Regions from separate parts of the Homo sapiens genome. Here regions 1, 2 and 3 are each linked to region 4. The links are contacts of gene promoters, found by promoter capture Hi-C in human tissues and cell types (Jung and others, 2019). All regions are on one chromosome and are shown on one strand. The core of a region is centred on a gene start or on the middle of the fragment in contact, and the rest is flanking DNA. Distances in the headings are between cores, read along the strand shown.

The links. Contacts are between HindIII fragments. The study calls those that stand out against the background at their distance.
Region 1: a fragment that was not itself captured here is called in contact with the fragment with the promoter of EBPL in region 4 in 1 of the 25 tissues and cell types used here (mesenchymal stem cells).
Region 2: a contact is called between a fragment that was not itself captured here and the fragment with the promoter of EBPL in region 4, in 2 of the 25 tissues and cell types used here (dorsolateral prefrontal cortex and mesenchymal stem cells).
Region 3: a contact is called between a fragment that was not itself captured here and the fragment with the promoter of EBPL in region 4, in 1 of the 25 tissues and cell types used here (hippocampus).

Annotation. Positions count from the first base shown.
Region 1 is chr13:50,802,858-50,807,281 of GRCh38, forward strand. It overlaps a transcript of DLEU7 not described here. Among named protein-coding and RNA genes, the nearest start is that of DLEU7-AS1, 2.8 kb to the right of the region's middle. The HindIII fragment of the contact is 3,253 bases long and covers 620-3,872 here.
Region 2 is chr13:50,893,862-50,898,927 of GRCh38, forward strand. The region is part of intron 1 of RNASEH2B-AS1 (RNASEH2B antisense RNA 1); the gene reads right to left. Among named protein-coding and RNA genes, the nearest start is that of RNASEH2B, 13 kb to the right of the region's middle. RefSeq lists an enhancer at 1-254. The HindIII fragment of the contact is 3,873 bases long and covers 1-3,404 here.
Region 3 is chr13:50,758,307-50,763,260 of GRCh38, forward strand. It overlaps a transcript of DLEU7 not described here. Among named protein-coding and RNA genes, the nearest start is that of DLEU7-AS1, 47 kb to the right of the region's middle. The HindIII fragment of the contact is 6,650 bases long and covers 1-4,954 here.
Region 4 is chr13:49,688,486-49,693,349 of GRCh38, forward strand. It overlaps EBPL (EBP like), which reads right to left and starts at 3,001. Exons shown (of 4, transcript NM_032565.5): 1 at 2,769-3,001. The coding sequence starts at 2,939. RefSeq lists an enhancer at 2,296-3,293 and silencers at 2,757-2,896, 2,927-3,126. The HindIII fragment of the contact is 15,697 bases long and covers 1-4,864 here.

The DNA of each region.
Region 1 (4,424 bases), core at 996-3,495, 1.1 Mb after region 4:
CGCTATTTATACTTATCTGTGCCTTGTCTTTTTATCCACATAACAATAGAGCTTAAATAGGCTTCTACATTATTACATAATATATTTTCTTATTAGTTTTTATCACACGGCACTTCATTGTGTAATGTTTCATAATTTATTTAACCTGTTCCCTATTGATAACGTTTAGGCAGTTTCAGATTTTTACATGTATAACCAATAGCCTAACAGGTCATTGGTACATAAATCATTTCACACATTTGCAAATACATCTGTAGGAAACATTCCTCAAATTGGAATTGCTAGGTCAAAGGTATGTGCATTTGTCATTTTGATAGATATTGACAAATTTCCCTCAACTAAGATTGTACGAATTTATACTTTAACCATCAGTGTGTGAAACGACTCACTCTCCCCTTCCTCATGGACTCAGCATGTTATAGAATGTGTTGATCATTGTCAATCTGATGTGAAGTAATATTTTCTGATAATTTAACTTGAAATTCTCTCAACTTTAGTGAATTAATAATGCTTTGCCCTTTTTTATTAGGTTGTTAGACATTTCCTTATTGATATAATTCTCTCTATATTAGAATATTCTACATTAATAAAATTAACCCATTAAAGTGTGTCAAATATGGTAGCCACCAGCCCCATGTGGCTCTTGAACACTTGAAATGTGGCTAGTTCCAATTGTGATGCACAGTAATTATAAAATACACACCAGATTTCTTGGAACAAAAAGGAATAGAAATATCTTATTTATAATATTTTGTATTGATTACTTATTGAAATAAAATTATTTTTGATATGACAAATTAAATAAAACATATTACTAAAATTAATTTCTTTAATTAAAGAAAAAAGGTGATGCATTTCTTTAAAAAACAGACTTCTTTTTACTTTTTACACTAACTACTAGAAAATTTAGAATTACACGTGTAGCTTACATTGTATTTCCATTGACAGTGCTAGTCTACTATGTGAGCTGCAAATTTTTTGCCCAGTTTATTTTTATATTGTCAGATTCATCAGTTTTTTGTTATGACTTCTGAGATTTGTAATGGACTTAAAGAGATCTTCCTTACTACAATACTTTTAAAACTTTTCCATGGTGGGTCCTAGTATTTTTATATTTTTATTAACGTGGAAATCTTTGATTCATCAGGAAATCATTTTGATGTAAGGTCTGAGGTTAGAATCCAATATTAATTTTTTAGAGGGCTAGAATGAACAACATTTATTAATTTCACCCTTTTCCCACTAATTGAAATGTCATCACGTCCTAAATATTTTAATGTCAGGTAGGGCTAGTACCATGTATTTTCTATTTTTTCCCCTGAATTTTCCTGGTTATTCCTGCTTGTTTTTTTCCTTTATATGAACTTTAGAATCATATATAGACTCCCAAATTTTATTGATATTCTTATAGGACCTGTATTAAATGTTTATATTTTTTTAGAGAGAATTGAAAACTGTCTGATACTGAGTTTCCCTCACCAAGAATATAATATACTTTTATATCTGTTCAAGTGTTCTTTTGTGTCCACAAGAGACAGTGTAATGTTGTTCGTTTTATGGGGTTTTTTTTTTTTCTGTTGTTGTTGTTTTTGTTTTTGAGACAGAGTCTCACTCTGTCACCCAGGCTGGAGTGTGGAGTGCAGTGGCATGATCTCAGCTCACTGCAATCTCTGCCTCCTGGGTTCAAGTGATTCTCCTGCCTCAGCCTCCTGAGTAGCTGCAACCACAGGCATGCACCACCACACCCAGCTATTTTTTAAAAATTTTTATTAGAGATGGGATTTCACCATGTTGGTCAGGCTGGTCTCGAACTCCTGACCTCAGGTGATCCGCCAGCCTAGGCCTCTCAAAGTGCTGGGATTGCAGGTAGGAGCCACCACGTCCAGCCAGTTAAAGATTTTACATAGGTTTTCACATCTGACAAATTTATTCTAAATATTTTCTAGTGATATTGCTATCAAAAATGAAGTATTTTCTTCTATTATGCCTTTTTTATTTTAATATAGGAAGGATGATGATTGTATATATTTACTTTATAACCAAAGACCTAACTGAATTCCACTATTGTTCTAATATTTTTTTTCAGTTGGCTCACTTTTTATATAATAAAATTTTTACTTTTATAATCTACAAGCAATTATTATTTGTCTTTTTCTTTTCTAATTTGTATACATTTTCTTTCTCTCTTGTAAAACTGCATTGCTTAGGATGTCTAGATCAACGTCTATGAATAGTTGTGGTAGTAGACATTCTTGTCTTGTTCCTGACATTAATATAAATATTTCTGAGTTTCCTTATAGATTATAGCACTAGCTTTTAGATTGAGATTAGTATATTGCACTAGGTTAAGGAAGTATCTATTGCCATTTATTGACAGTTTTGTTTTGTTGTTTATTTGCTTGTTTAGTAAGAATGGATGTTGGAGTTTATCAAATGTCTCTCAGCATCTAGAAACATGATTTTTAATCTATTAGTGTGGTAGAAATATATTAATAGATTTCCTAATATTGAACCATCCTTGCATTCTAGAATAAATATAATTGCTCATGGTGTGTTAGTTTTTTAATGTGTAATTGGATTTTGTTTAATAATGCTTTATATTCATAATTTTTGTGTAATAATCCTAACAGTTATTGTTTTATTATTTTGATTTTCTTCTTCAAGAACACCAATTATGCATATGTTTGATTTTTTTATATATTTTGCATCTATCATATAACCCTTTTAAATATCTTTTTTATTTATTCTTTTTACTCATTTTTTTCTAATTCCGTCTTCCACATGTCTAGCTATGCTTTCAGCAATGCCCTGTCTTCTTTGTGCAGTTTCCTACCACTTCTCATTCAGCTTTATCGCCTTTCCTTTTTCTAGAAACCTCACCACTTTGAGGCCCAGGGAAGCACTCAGTCAAGCTGACACACCCTTATTGCTAGAGAACAAATATCAGCAAACTATAGCCCATTGGCTAGCTTTCTTTTTTGGGAAGTAAAGTTTTATTGGAATATAGATATGCCCATTTGTTTATTGTACATGGTTGCTTCAGCACTACAGTGGCAGAATTTGATAGTTATGGCAGAGACCATATGGCCCAGAAATTCTAAAATATTTACTATTTGGTTGTATAAGAAGTGGTTTGCTGCCCTCTATTGTAAAAACCTCCATTTACATTTCAGTATGTATCACTTAGAATTGTGCTTTTATGACTTTCTTGAAGCTCAGAATCCACAGGCATCTTCACTCTGGTACTTCCTATGTCCTATGCCACTAAGTCTTCTCTCTCTCTCATTTAAAAATCTCTGTTGTTTCCTAGTTTTACAAAGGATAAGCTTTGCATTACTGTTTTTCTTGATTCCCTTGATGTTTTGGTTGGTTTTTCTGAGATATGAATAAGAAAATACTCACTTAGCTCTGCATGTTAAAATTGGAAGTCCTCAGATAATATTCCAAGAAATTATTTTTTATTTTCATCTTTGGTTGGTTGTTTTTTGACCATTGGATAGAGATCTTAGCATACTAAATGTCTTTATCCTGAATATATAGAGATTTTCTCTCCTTAATTTAATGATTTTATGACTTCTGCAATTCTTTTAGTGATTATTTAGTTCTCAATGAAGAACATAAACACAACTTTTTAAAAAACATGTATTAGTAAGGAAAAATTTGTTTTATATTTTCTATTGCCCTAAATTCTGACTCATATTAGACAGCTCGGAGTAATATTTAATACTTGAAACTTCACAAGTAATTACAAATAAATAAATGCTATAAATATTAAAAAATAGGAGCAATCTCAACTTTATCCTCACATTTTTCTGCTAAGACTTATTTAGTTACATATTGGGCTTATTTTAAAATTTAACCAAAATTATTTGATCTTTAATTATGTTTTTACCTAGAAATGTATATTTAAAAATAAAGTGTAATTCCAGTTGTATTTATACTATTCAGAATTTCAGAAGTCTGTAATCCCAGCTACTCGGGAGGCTGAGGCAGGAGAATTGCTTGAGCCTGGGAAGTGGAGGTTGCAATGAGCAGAGATCGCACCATTGCACTCCAGCCTGGGTGACAGAGCTAGACTCACTGCACTCTAGCCTGGGTGACAGAGCTAGACTCCCTCTCAAAAAAAAAAAAAAAAAAAAAAGTCGGTCTGCTCCTCTGCCTTTTTTTTTCCTACTTTTAAGAGTAGTCTGCCTCCGCAAACTTTAGTAAAGAAGTACTAAAATTAAGTGTGTTAAATGGTGTTAAGATATATATAAAAATTAATTTTTAAAGAGAGTTTAGATTGTTATCTTTAAATTTTTTTATACATTTCATAAAACATAAGTATTTCCTAATCATTAATAGGTTTTAATGAGCTTTAGTAGATGAGCAGAAATATCAGAGATATAAAATGATACTATACCGGCTTCCTTAAGAAGCTTTCT
Region 2 (5,066 bases), core at 218-2,717, 1.2 Mb after region 4:
ACAGCTACTCTAATCAGCTCAAGGAAGTCCTATTGCTAAAGAAAGGAGACATATATCAACATGCATTAACATTAAAATGATGCCTTCAGAAGAGGTAAAAGTTGAACTAGAATTTCTGTAGTTCAAACCCACCTATCAAGAAATGGGTTAGATTCATGATTTAAAATTATACCACAAATCAAAGAAAAAATACTTTTTTAAGTGTCTGCTCTTCTTTATTTTAGCCAAATCTCTAGAGGTCTGTCCAAATATATTTCTTGAATTTTCTTGAACTAGCCAGCAGGTTCATCACTTGTGGATTTGCTGTAGTCTCCAATCCTCACAAGTGTTTGATAGCTTTTCTTAGGCAACTTCCTTCCAGCTGCATGGAACATGTAATTTCGGCCCAAGTCAATAGCAGTGAATGAGAAACCCAGATGCCAGGGAAAGGCAGCCTCCCAATAGATAGAAAACACCTGAAACTGGTGATCAGCAGCTTCCGGATAAGATCTCAGGAGTTGGGCCAGTGGGTTCAAGCATGCACACTAAGAGGCAAAATGGCAGAGTTTGACTGGTATATGACCTTCTAGGAGCAATCAACTGGTAAGAGAAGAGTGCTTCAAGTAAGCATGTGTACAACTCCAGTAAACACACTGCGCATGCGGCCCCTCCCAAGCACTAGCACACAAGTGGTCAGCCCACCCCAAGGGAAGAATCAGGGGAGAGGGGACCCAAGACCCTGTAAGTATGTCAGCATATAAAACTCAAAGTCAAAAGGTCAAACTGTGTACTTGATCTCCCAAGTTGCTTGCTTGGCCCTCTTCCAAGTGTACTTTACTCCCTTTCATTCCTGCTCTAAAGCTTTTTAATACACTTTCACCACTGCTCTAAAACTTGCCTCAGTCTCTCACTCTGCCTTATGCCCCTGAGCCAAATTCTTTCTTCTGAGAAGGTAAGAATTGTTGCTGCAGACCTATACAGATTCACCGCCAGTAACACTTTCAGCTCTTACAAGACCATTATAGACACCCGTGCTTGTCAACAACCTCCTGCTCTGATAACCTCAACATAAATTTATTTCATCAAACAGCAGATGCTCTCTTGTCCCACCAGCCCAGACACCAGTGGGTGAGAGTCATGGAAGGTGTTCATTTTCTGCAAAATATTCATTAGTACTTTAGAGAACCAAAGTAATTTTCAGAAAACTACCTATTTTCCAAATACCTCAGAGGAAACTGACCATATCTGGATCACTGGTGATAGAACCTAATTAGGTGAAGCCAATGGCAGTCTTCCATCCCCTGAGATTAGTACAGGGATGGGCACCATAATCCGAGATGAAATAAGCAGAATAAAAACAAGGACTCATATTTCATGTTACATTGTATACCAGGAAGTATATATCCCCCATGGCCACTGGCAGCCATATTGCGAGCACAAGGAGAACCAGTCTTAGGATGAAACTAATGCTGCCCTACCTTTGAAATCCAGTTATGTAGATAAATGTTCTTATTGCATACACAAGCTTGAGTCAGGTATTTTGATTCCTCGTAGGTGAAACTACTTAATTAATTTAAGTGGTCTTATGAGTAATTTGTACTCCAATGTCTCTGAAATTTTCCTAGAATTTAACTACTAATCCCAGGGACTGGGCCAGAAGAAGCTCTAAGTAGTAAACAATATAACTCAATGTTGTCCTCTTTTTCCAGTGCTAGAGCACTGTGGTTGACCCAAGGGTGTGAGCTTCTTTTAGTGGGTTATTCTCCCAAGATAATTCTATCATTATGCAACTAGACTTTTCCTACCCACCTGAAAAATAGGCCCTGTTATACCCTACGATGTCAAGCTAGGCTCATGCTGGAACTCCCAAAACATGAACAAATGTAGTTTTATAAAGTTTGAGCTGAAAAAATGTTGTGTTTTTTTTTTTTTCTTTTAGTTTATTCAGCTTAATCCCCTCTTTTTAGGTAAACCTACAATGGGGAAATGACTTGACTAAGAAAGCAATAGACTAGACCTAGAGATAGGACAGAGCCCAAGGCTTCAGTTCTGTGCTCGACCTGCTGTCCTGGTACACTGAGGCTGAAAACTCATTTCCAGCACCCCTTCTCAATGGCACATGAACATTATATAAACACTGTATAGTTAAGTCGTCTGAATTTTTCATTTTTGCCATATTAGCTGTTATTACTGTTATTGGTGTTTTCTGAGAAATAACTAGCTCACAGTGCTTAGATGCAGTGAAAATCTAAAGGACAAACCATTTGGAAAAGAGTTTAAAGCTCCAAGTTAAGGTTCAGCATCAGTTGTCCTACTGATGTTGAGGTTATCTGATTATACTTAGGCTTCTTAAGCATGTTCTAAAATAATCAAGTAATCAGTTAACAAAACACCCTATATTTTAATATAAAAAAGCACAAATAGCAAGATGAACTTTTATTTTATAAAGAATCCATATTAAATGCTTAATTATGAACGTTGCTGCTAAAGAAGTCTTTGAAATGTCATTTTCAATATATCCTTGACCTACTTAAGAACAGACACTTGTTTCTTTTCTCCATCCTCAAATTTAGAAATCTCTGGCTGATTTTTAAAGCATTTTGTAGATCACATCAAGTTAAAAAGCTTCTGCACAGCAAAGAAAACAATCAACAGAATGAAGAGAAAACCCACAGAAATATTTGCAAACTACCCAACTGACAAGGAATTCATAACCAGGAAATGTAAGGCGCTCAAACAACTTTACAGGAAAAAAATCTAATAACCCAATTTAAAAATAGACAAAAGATCTGAATAGACATTTCTCCAAAGAAGACATGCAAATGGCAAACAGGTGTATGAAAAGGTGCTCAACATCATGATCATTAGAGACATGCAAATCAAAACTACAATGAAATATCATTTCACCCCAGTTAAAGTGGCTTTTATCCAAAACACAGGCAATAACAAATGCTGGCGAGGATGTGCAGAAAAGAGAACACTTACACACTGTTGGTGGGAATGTAAATTAGTACAACCACTGTGGAGAACAGCTTGGAGGTTCCTAAAAAAAGCTGTAAATAAAGCTGCCATATGATCCAGCAATCTCACTGCTGAGTATAGACCCAAAAGAAAGGAAACCAGTATATCAAAGAGATATCTGCACTCCCATATTTATTGCAACACAATTCACAATAGCCAGGATTTGGAAGCAACCTAAGTGTCCATAGACAGATGAATAGATAAAGAAAACGTGGTACATGCACACAATGGAGCATTATTCAACCATAAAAAAGAATGAGATCCTGTCATTTGCAACAACATGGATGGAACCAGAGGTCATTATGTTAAGTGAAATAAGCCAGACACAGAAAGACCAACTTTGCATGTTCTCACTTATTTGTGGGAGCTAAAAATTAAAATCATTGAACTCATGGAGATAGAGAGTAGAAGGATGGCTACTAGAGGCTGTGAAGAGTAGTGGTGGAGGTGGCAGGGAGTGGTGATGGTTAATGGGTACAAAAAAAATGGTTGGAAAGAATGAATAAAACCTAGTATTTTGACAGCACAACAGCATGACTATAGTCAATAATGATTTTATTGTACATTTAAAAACAACTGAAAGAGGATGATTGGATTGTTTGTAGCACAAAGGATAAATGCTTGAGGTGATAGATACTCCATTTACTTTGATGTGATTATTACACATTGCATGCCTGTATCAAAATACCCCATAAATATATACACTTATGTACCCACGAAAATTAAAAATTTAAAAATAAATAAATAAAAAGCAATCCGTGACCACCAATTATTCAGCTATTTCACTTCATCACCTCCTGTATTCTCTGAAACATCTGCACTATAGCCAGAAACTTCCATTTAACAACATGCTATGGTATTCGGGAGTATTCCTCCCTCAGGTTTCAGCCTATGTTTACCCTATACCTGAAATGCCCTCTCAACCAACTCTTCCATGACAGTTCAAGTTCCATTCATCCTATGGGGCTCTTTATAAATGCCTTCTCATTCATGATGAGTCCAGCCCATACTGATTGTCCTTACCTTTTCTTGCTTTCACAACTGTGCTACCGATTGTTGTGTTATGGTTTTTTTTTAATATTTCATGTGTGGATTTTTTCAAATTTGATTGTAAGCTGTTAAAGAATAAGCAATGATGTTTTTCTTTCTTACATGCATTCTACAGAGCATCTTGCACATATGGAAGTTGAAAGCTCCTCTACAAGCTTACTGATTGATGGATAGAAATAACTAGAGTACAAGTGAAGTGGTGCCCTCTTTGCCTTCCTCCCCTCTCCAGGGCCTTCACTGCCACTGTCCTGTTAGAGTACCATTAACTTCCAATGTTAGAACAGGCTCTTGATGGCTGAGGACCAAGTTTTGTTTGTTTGTTTTTGTTCTCTTCCACTGCGTTCTTTCTGCCTTGCTGTAGATTCTGAGTAGATCAGTTAAGATCTTCACGCCTATAGAAATGGCAGACAGAATCTCAAATTTTAAAGGACAACTAGGATGTTGATAATCTCTTCTGGTTCCAAGTAGGGTAGAGCATAAGCTGTTTCAGCAAAGTTCTTGTTCTCAAAATCCCCAGGCAATCTTAGGTGTCTTGCAGAGATATGAAGTTATTTCTAATATCTAATCTAAATCTCTGTCTGCCACTCAAGTCTCTTCCCTTTATCACAACCCTAAGTGAAAACAGGAACTAGGGCTTTCTTTGCTGAAAACCGTGTCCACACCATATAGCTATTTTTAAAAAGATGTATTCCCAGCTTATCTTCTTTACAAGTTAAGGACATGGTGTTGTGTTTTATATCTGGTCTCTGTTTGAAAATAAATGGCCATCTAGAGTACAGGCTATAAGGAAGTAAGCTCTTCTTCAAACATACAGAAAGTAGAGACAAATTTTGTCACATTTGCTTTAAATATTTTATTTTAAAATTTGAACTATTATAGATGTAGGTGAATGATGCCTTTGTACCACTGCCTGTTTTCCCTTCCAAAGAGTGATGACTATTCAGGGACATTTTTTTTCCTGGCAAGTTTAAAAATAATATATATGTATATTCACAGAAATATATATAACGAACATA
Region 3 (4,954 bases), core at 1,263-3,762, 1.1 Mb after region 4:
GACTGTGGTACACATTGATCAAAGTGAGAAGATAACCAGTTAATTAAGGTTTCTTTTGTCCTTATTTCACTCTTGTATTAGTTATCCACTGCTGCATAACAAATGGCCCCCAAAGTGAGCAGTGTAAAAAAAATTTATTATGTCAGTTTCACAGTATTCACAGTTTCCGTGAGTCAGGAATCCCAGTATTTCTCAGCTGGGTGCCTCTGGCTCAGTAGCTTTCATGAAGCTGCAGTTAAGCAGTCACTTAGGGCTGGGGCTGTGGGGCTGTGGTCTCCACTGAAGACTCCACCGGGGGAAGTCAGCTCTAAGCCCACTTACCTGCTGGTTGCCAGGCCTCATGGGCAGTTGGACAGAGGGCTCTATTTCCCACTGTTGGCTGAAGGCCTCCCTCAGTTCCTTGTCACATGAACCTCTCCACAGGGCTGACTATAAACACAACTGGCTTTCTCCAGAGTGAGGGATGAGAGAGAAGGAGAAAGAGGATACTCAAGAAAGAAGCCATAGTCTTTTTATGACTAAATCTCAGGAGTGGCACTCCTTTACTTAGCTATTGTTTTCTATTCACTGGAAGTGAGTCACTATGTCCAGCCCACATTCAAGGGGAGAAGATTGCAGAAGGAAGCAAGGATAATTGGAGCCCATCTTAGGCTTACCACAGCCCCCATTTCCAAATATTTTAATGTGTAATCCTCAATGGAGAATGTCTTGAACTAGTGTCACTGAGATTCTTCAATCATTAGCTACCACAAGAAAATCGGAATTCCTTTGAAAATTCATTTCAAACTAGTTCATCCAATTTGCAAACACATTCCCTTAGACAGGGGTTGATTTATTCCTCATCTTTGTAACCTCCTTTTCCACTCCCCCCATATACATATTTTCCATTTTAAGCCTAGTCTATCAGCTTCATTTAGAGATATCTGGAAGGAACAAAGAAACAAACACAAAAATATCTGACTGACATAACATACTAGCTGTATGGCTTCAGTAAAATCACTTAACTATTATGGGTCTTGGTTCCTTCATCTACTGGAAGAATGGCTTGATCCCAATGATCTCTTAGGCCTCCCACAGATTTAGAAGTTTATGAGATTTTGATTCCATGTGTGTAAACTAGGGATGGAACTAAATGTGTGGCAGAAATAAAGACTTCAGAGGTCTATAGTGAAAGTTAAATGAATAAGTTTTGGGAGTTTTATGAAGCACTTTGTACACTCTAAAGTCCTATGCACATGTAAGGGCTTATTCTTATTTAGCCCTTATCATGAATAGATCAGGGCAGAAGGGCACAGTAGTGATAGTAGTCTTCTTATTCAGCTAGTCAGGTGGCCCCCAGTGTCACTCTCTTAGATCCATTCTTTCCCAGTGGAAAAACACCAGGAAGGGAGTCAGCAGAGGAAGTGACCCAGTGGAAGAAGTGACCCGTGAGGGAAATATTGGACCTATTTTAGATTCTCAGTGTGCTAAGAACTCAGGGGGCTTCTGTGACTTCTCTGAGTTACCCTGGATCTCCACGTACACTCTTTGGCCACCCCTCCACAGCAAGAACTTCTCTCCTGGAGCCCAGTCCTGCAAATTCTCTCTTCCCTCTGCCAGCCACCTTCCATCCTTTGGACCCTCCCTTCTGAGATCCTACTATTCCTTGGATAGTGACCCCCCATGTAGCTCATCAGTCAGTGTCAGCTCTACCTGGTTCCATAGCAAATTGCTAAATATGAGGTCTTTTACGTATTCTTGAGTATACACTTTATGCATACAAAAGATCATTCAGGGGTTTGGTCTGGTTTTTAGACAGCAATGTTAGATTTATTCAAGCTCTATATTTAAAAATGCAATTCATATTTAGGCTTTTGTGTTCATCTTATAAATCCTATTTTACTTGTAAAATAAAAACTTCTGCCAAATTTTAGCAATCACAGTTAAGGATCCCTTGAATAATATTTGGTCTCATTTTATAAAGCAAGCTAATTAAACATCTTTGAATACTTTCAATTACACTTACAAATATAAGTACTTTTAAGCACTTCAGTATTCTTTTTTTTGGTGGGAGCTGGGGGCAATGGGAGGGCAGGGACAGGGTCTCACTCTGTTGCCCAGGCTGGAGTTCACTGGCATGATCATAGTTCACAGCAGCCTCAAACTCGTGGGCTCAAGCAATCCTCCTGCCTCAGCCTCACAAGTCGCTAGGATTACAGGCATGTGCCACCAGGTCTGGCTAACTTTTGTATTTTTTGTAGAGATGAGGGTCTTGCTATGTTGACCAGGCTGGTCTCAAACTCCTGGCCTCAAGTGATCCTTCTGCCGTGGCTTCCCAAGTGTTGGGATTACAGGCGTGAGCCACTGTGCCTGGCCCAATTTTCTAATAGTAAAACTTCCCATGCATGTAAGTATTTACTGAAAATTTAATCAAGCAAATTTCTAAATGTGATGAATCTTAAATTTAAGAAAATGTTCATATATTGTTTATAAATTTAGTAAATACATTAGCCAGTATAGGTTAGGCTATGGTATGATAGCAAATAAGCCTGAAATCTTGATGGCTTAAATGTGTCAAAGAGAATTCAGCCTCATCAGATACCCCTGGCAGTCAGAGTGGGGCCTATGATTCATTTGGGGCAATGAAAATTTGTGGTATTTCCAAGTAGAAGCAGTCAAGAACAGCATGTCTCCTCCATCTCTCCTTTTCTTGTGAAAGTGACTTGGATGGTGCAGCCACTGGATGGGGGAGGCCATGTGGTCCACACTGTATTTGCCTGAAGGAGAAACACACCTGGATTGTGTTGTGAGAGACCATGAAAGACTGAATTGTCCACTGGGGATCCCGTCCTTGCTCAGAAAAAATCAACCAGAGCACCATTCATATCAGCTTTTATTCAAAAATACCAGGCATGAGAAGGATCCAAAGGGGCGTTGTAACTTGGGGAAGGAGGGCAGAATGTTTTATAGAGCTTTAGCAGGAAGGTGTCAGCTGAAGTTCAGCCATCGGCAGCAGTGGTTTGTCAAAAGAGTTTGAGAAGGGGGACGAATTGTTTTAGTGAATTAGCAGTGATGATTTGAGTGATCTGAATTTTATCAAAAGGGGTGGAGTGGAACAGTTAGGGGCTAATGTCATGTGCAAAAAAAAGAGGGAAGAGGAAACCCAGCTGTTGGGGCAAGGACATGTGGGATCCCTAGTGGACAATTCAGTCTTTCATGCTGTCTCACAACATGATCCAGGTGTGTTTCTCCTTCAGGCAAATACAGTGTGGATCACATGGCCTCTCCCATCCAATGCCTGCACCAACCAGGTCGCTTTCACAAGGAAAGGAGAGATGGAGGAGACATGCCTGCTCTTGATGCTTCTACTTGGAAGTACCACAAGTTTTCATTGCCCCAAATGAATCATGGGCCCCAATCTGACTGCCAGAGGCATCTGGTGAGGCTGAATTCTCTTTGACACATTAAAGTTTTATCTAAAACCACAAGTCTAAATCAAAAAGTATTCAATTATGCCTCTTAAATGGGCATTTTAAAGCTGACCTGTTATTCTAATAGGCAATTTCTTTAAAACATTAATGAAATATACCAAATAAGTAGAGATTCTTAACTTGAAAATATTGGGCCGGGCACGGTGGCTCACGCCTGTAATCCCAGCACTTTGGGAGGCCGAGGTGGGTGGATCACAGGGTCAGGAGTTCAAGACCTGCCTGGCCAAGATGGTGAAACCCCATCTCTACTAAAAATACAAAAAAAATTAGCCAGGCGTGGTGGTGGGCACCTGTAATCCCAGCTACTCGGGAGGCTGAGGCAGAGAATTGCTTGAGCCCGGGAGGCGGAGGTTGCAGTGAGCCAAGATCGCACCACTGCACTCCAGCCTGGGTGACAGAGCGAGACTCGTCTCAAAAAAAAAAAAAAAAAAAAAAGAAAAGAAAATATCAGTGATACAGTTTTGATTCTCTAAAAGACTTATATGTTTAGTTCTGTGTCTTCCCAGGGTTTCTGACTATGCAATGTTTGGGGATTACGACTATCACAAGCAGGGATTTTAGCCAGGATGCTGACTGCATGAATTAATGCCTACTCCTGGAGCATTATAATTAAAATACAGACTTATCATTCTCAGAATCTAGACAGCTCATATCCCTGCTGTGCTCACGGAACAGGGTAAAGCCCAGGTCGGAACCTATCCTGGCTGCTGCCTCACTATTATGGGTGGCATTTCTTTGCCTCTCAAGGCCTACAAATGTCTTTTTCATCTAAATCCAATAGCTTTGAACTTGATGGAAGCTTGCATTCTTTTCACAACTTTTATGGGTGTCAACACATTAAATGGAGGAGAAAGAAAGAAGCTGTATACATCTTGAAGGCGGGGATTAAAGGAGAAGATGCCACCAAGGTGGTTTAAGAATGGAACTCTTCCTACCCCAGGCCACCCCACAAAACAAAACAAAAAAACAACAAAAACACACTCTCACACTGAAGAGGTTAATCTCCTGCCCTTTATTGTGCTAGAAAAAAAAAAAAAAAAAGCAACAGCCGCCTCCCCAAGATTACAAAAAGTCCCCCTGCATCCAGGAAAGATCTGCATCCAGGAAGGGATGTTGCAGGGAGAGAAAGAATCACAGGTGAAAAGATAAAGTTCTTCCCACCAGTGTGCCTCCAACTGGTGGAGAGAAAGTGCCCTGCAGACCCACAAGTGCATATGTAATGGTAGCCCTAGGTCTGCTTGGGTCTTTAGGAAAGGAGACAACACCAGAGAGGTGGGAAGGCAGCTGCCTGGCAGTTAATTAAAGGAGAGCAGGAGAGATCACCAACTGCACGCAGAGGGACAATGATGTGTGAGATGCAGAGGGGTGTGAGATCAAGCAGCAGCTCGGTACTGCTGTGGCACTGATGTCCTGGGGACGCTGGGGAGGGCTCGAGTTATGAAGGATCCCATTCATTGTAATAAGGAGGCTGGATCTAGTCCTAA
Region 4 (4,864 bases), core at 1,751-4,250:
GAGGCAGGTAGATCACGAGGTCAGGAGATCGAGACCATCCTGGCTAATATGGTGAAACCCCGTCTCTACAAAAAATACAAAAAATTAGCCGGGCGTGGTGGCGGGTGCCTGTAGTCCCAGCTACTCAGGAGGCTGAGGCAGGAGAATGGCGTGAACCCGAGAGGCGGAGCTTGCAGCGAGCCGAGATTGCGCCACTGCACTCCAGTCTGGGTAATAGAGCGAGACTCCGTCTCAAAAAAAAAAAAAAAAAAAAAGAAGTGTCGGGTTAAGGAGAGGCAACTCATCTTCTAGTGAACAAGTGAGTTTTAATTTTGGTTCTCCCCTAAGCTCTACATCTTAGTCTTAGCTTGTCCCACACTTCTGGGTATTCTTGCAATAAACTCCCAAGCAAAGACAACATGGGCATGTATTTTCTTGCAGCCTCAACTGCTTAATTCAAGTGCTCTCCCCACTGATCTCTGAGACACATGTACAAAGACGTTGGTAGATGCATTGTTTGTAATGACAGAAAAATGTGTCCACTAATATGGGCTGGTTAAGTGATCGTATTCATCAAATATAAGATACATCCCAATTTAGAGACATTAAAATATCAATCAAATGGCCTACAGTAGTTACATGATGTAGTTGATTCTTCTAATATGTGAAAAAATGTGGGTCTTAGACTTGGAGAACTAAGGTATGGTGTATTCACACAGTGGACTACTTTGCAGCTGGGGTAGGTAATGGCACAAAAGGAGGTGTGTGTCGTGTTACCTGTAACAACCTGAGCTTGAAAAGTAAACAGTCTTAAACCAAGTGGTGAACACACGCATATAGTTTAAGTATTTTTACAGCTTTTTGTTTGTCTAAGGTATGTTAAACATTTTTCTTTTTTTTCCCAAGATAGAGTCTTGCTCTGTTGCCCAGGCTGGAGTGCAGTGGCTTGATCATGGCTCACTACAACCTCCACCTTCCAGGTTCAAGCAATTCTCCTGCCTCAGCCACCCGGGTAGCTGAGATTATGGGCACCGTCACCACACCTGGCTAATTTTTGTATATTTAGTACAGACGGGGTTTCACCATGTTGGCCAGGCTGGTCTTGAACTCCTGACCTCGTGATCCACCCGCCTCAGCCTCCCAAAATGCTGGGATTACAGGCATGAGCCACTGTGTCCGATATGTTATACATTTTTATATATATACATTCTGATATGCTATATACAGTTATACCCAGCCAATATGTTACACAGTTTTCTCTCACTGGGCCTAGCAACATTTTTGTTATGTTATACATTTTGTTATACATTTTTTCTAACCGGGCCTAGCAATCTGCTTTATCTCCCTTGTTCTGTGGGAAACCTTGTGTTCAAGTGATAGCTTAAAAATCAATTCTCGGCTGGTGGCGGTGGCGGTGGCTCACGCCTGTCATCCCAGCACTTTGGGAGGCCAAGGTGGGCAGATCATCTGATGTTAGGGGTTTGAGACCAGTCTGGCCAACATAGTGAAACCTCATCTCTACTAAAAACACAAAAATTAGCTGGGCGTGGTGACGGGCGCCCGTAATCCCAGCTACTCGGGAGGCTGAGGCAGGAGAATAGCTTTAACCCAAGGGGCGGAGGTTGCAGTGAGCCGAGATAGTGCCACTACACTCCAGCCTGGGCAACAGTGTTAGACTCTGTCTCAAGAACAACAACAAAAAAAAAGACAAAAAAAAAAAAAAAGAATTCTATAAATAAAGGAGTTGAGAGAAACATTCACTGTCCCTTATCTCTACATGTTGATTATCAGAATAAAAAGAATTCCAGCAACATCAGTCATGGGCACAAAGCCAACCCGTAAACATTTACAGAACTCGATGATTACCCAAAACTCGGCTTGCTTTCTCAATACTACTGACTTTGGCTTCACATTAGCCACAGGTGTGTCTAGAGTTAAACAAGGTCAACTTTACAAAAAAAAAAAAAAACAAACTGATACTTGGGCATAGTTTAAAAAAAACTTAAAAGTGTGTGTGTGTGTGTGCGTGCGCGTGTGTGGTGGGGGGCGGGGCATTTCAATATAAATGCCTTAAACACAACCTTCCTGGCTATTTTATAAAATGGGTTGAATCTCTAAGGACACATATTTCCTAAGACCTCGACTGATACACAGAGTGCAAACTTGGGAGCCAGACTAGACTGCCTCAGAATCATGCCAGCTGTGTGGCACTGGAAAGTCACCTAATTTTGCAGCGCCTACCTTCACCTCTGTAAAATGGGGAACAATAATAACTAATTTATGGATGCTGTAAAGATCTGAAATTTTAAACTCAGTAATGCGCCTGGCACACATTAGACACGGGTGTTTCGTTTGTCTTGGCAAAGGCTTCGGGTTTTGCGACAATAGCCTTGCTGCCTCCGGAGCAAGCATCTCTCCTTGCCCCCTCTGGGGCATTTAAAAATGACCTCAATTCTACTCTCAATTATGTCCAGTTCAACAGTTACGTGCAGGTTACAAAGCCGAGGAAGCTGAGGTATCTTCTAAACTAACATAGCACGTACAGAATTTTTTTAAAGTTTGGTGGAGGAATCGGCAGCACAAGGTAAGCTGCGCTCTGTTCACAGACCTGGGAATCAGAACTCCGGCCGCCGCGGCCTCCAGGCGCCTCTCAGCTAACAGACTTCCTGCAGCAGGGGGAGGGGCGGCCAGCTCGCTGCAAAAAGCCGCAGGACCCCCTCACCCCGCCTTGCCGCCCCCGCTCCCACTCTCTGGGATGGGGAGTGCAGGGTCTAGGCGATGGCACTTACCAGCGCGAAGTGCACCAGCGCGTCGTAGCAGAGCCAGATGAGCGCCCCGCGGTCCGCCGCCCCCTGCCCGCGGCCCAGGCGCAGGCCCAGGGCGCAGCCCGCCGCCAGCAGCGCGGCGCACAGCAGCAGCGAACCGCCAGCCTCGGCCCCCAGCTCCCACTCAGCGCCCATGCTTCAGGCTTCCGACGCCAACGGCCCAGGACCATGCGGCAGAGGAAAGCAGGGAGAGAAACGACGGGGCGGGGCTGGCCGGGAAGGGGCGGAGCCGGATGGCCAAGGAGGAGCGGAGCTGATTGGCCAAGGCGGTCCGGGGAGGGACGGGGCTCCCCGGCCGGGTCGGGGCCAGAGCGAGGATTCCGTGCCCGCCTCGCACCCTGGCCAGCCTGCTGAGTCCGGTGGTTTTGCCAGGTGCCGCCCATGGAGGTTCCGTAGAAGGAACGTGCTCACCAACTTGCGCAACCGCCTCGACCAAACCTGTTCCCAAACCGAGCCCAAAGGATTGGTAATAGGGCCACACCTTTTGATGTTGTTTCGCTTTTAACAAGGCTCAAACTTTAAGCCACAAAGTGAAGCCTAGGTAGTGGAAATTTTGCCAGTAGACCGGGGCAGAATTTTAGGGGCAAAAGGTTTTAATTAGGCTGCAGCAAGCCTTACCAGGGAGGCTGGGGGCCAAGGGAGTTTTCAGCCACCAGCCGGCTTAAAGCCTTTATGGCCTACTCTGACAATCTTTCCATTTCTTAAAAATCCAGAAAAGTAGAAGGGTGGGTGAGAGGAGCGGTAAGTCCTATTGGCTTGGCGATAGATGCGTTTAACCTGTGGCAGGCCAGGTTTCACTATCGCAGGCCTCCATCACAACTGCTTCAGCACTGAGTGGTTAAATTAAATATTAAAAGCTGAGGCCGGGCGCGGTGGCTCACGCCTGTAATCCCAGCACTTTTTGCCAAGGCGGGCGGATCACGAGGTCAGGAAATCGAGACCATCCTGGCTAACACGGCGAAACCACGTCTCTACTAAAAATACAAAAAATTAGCCGGGCGTGGTGACGGGCGCCTGTAGTCCCAGCTACTCCGGAGGCTGAGGCAGGAGAATGGCGTGAACCCGGGAGGCGGAGCTTGCAGTGAGCCGAGATCGCGCCACTGCACTCCAGCCTGGGCAACAGAGCGAGACTCCGTCTCAAAAAACAAAAAAAAAATTAAAAGCTGAAAGAGTCAGTGCCCATATACCAAAGTCTGGAATGTAACAAAAGCCCACCAAGAGTTTTGCCTAGGCCTTTCTTGGGCCTTGAAGCATGACAAGATAACTAAGGAATTTTTAACAGGACCCGTTTAGGATTAAACAAGTTTTATTGGGGGTCTGAAGAAACTCCCCAGGCCTCCAAAAACAAGTTTATTGGGAGTCTGGAGGAATTCCACAAGCCTCCATGATTTAGCAAGAGACAAAATAAGGGTAATCATCCCAGCACCCAGACCTATTTAGATTAAGTAAATTTACTGAGGCTCCAGAGGAAGGTCTTCAGGATTAGAAGTTGTTAATCACTTACGTCTTTAGATGAATGCACTCTTACACGTAGACATATAGCTTAGAAGGTATATACGCTCTGGAAAAACTTTGTAATTATGAGTTGGTCTGGCAATAATTTCCAGACCTTCTCCCTGTAACCGGTTGCAGAAATAAAAACTCTTCTTCCCCAGTTCATCTGCACCTCATTATTGGGCTGCCCAACCCCCAGTTTGGTCCGGGAACAAACCTACATTATTTAACATCACAACAACCCTATGAGGTCGGTGAAATAAGCCAGTCACAAAAACATACTTATGATTCCACTTACAGGAAATATCTAAAATAATCAATTTGCAGAAACAAAATAGAATGATGGTTACCAGGGGTGGGGCGGGGCGGGAGTGGGGGGGGGGCGCGGGGAAAAGTGGAGTGTTATTTATTCGGATAGTTTGATTTGCAAGATGATGTTCTGGAGATTGGTTGCACAACAACGTGAACATACTTTACTGAGCTGCACACTTAAAAATGGTTAAGATGGCAAATTTTATGTGTATTTTACAGTTATTAAAAAAAATGCTGGCACTGAACACAAGAAA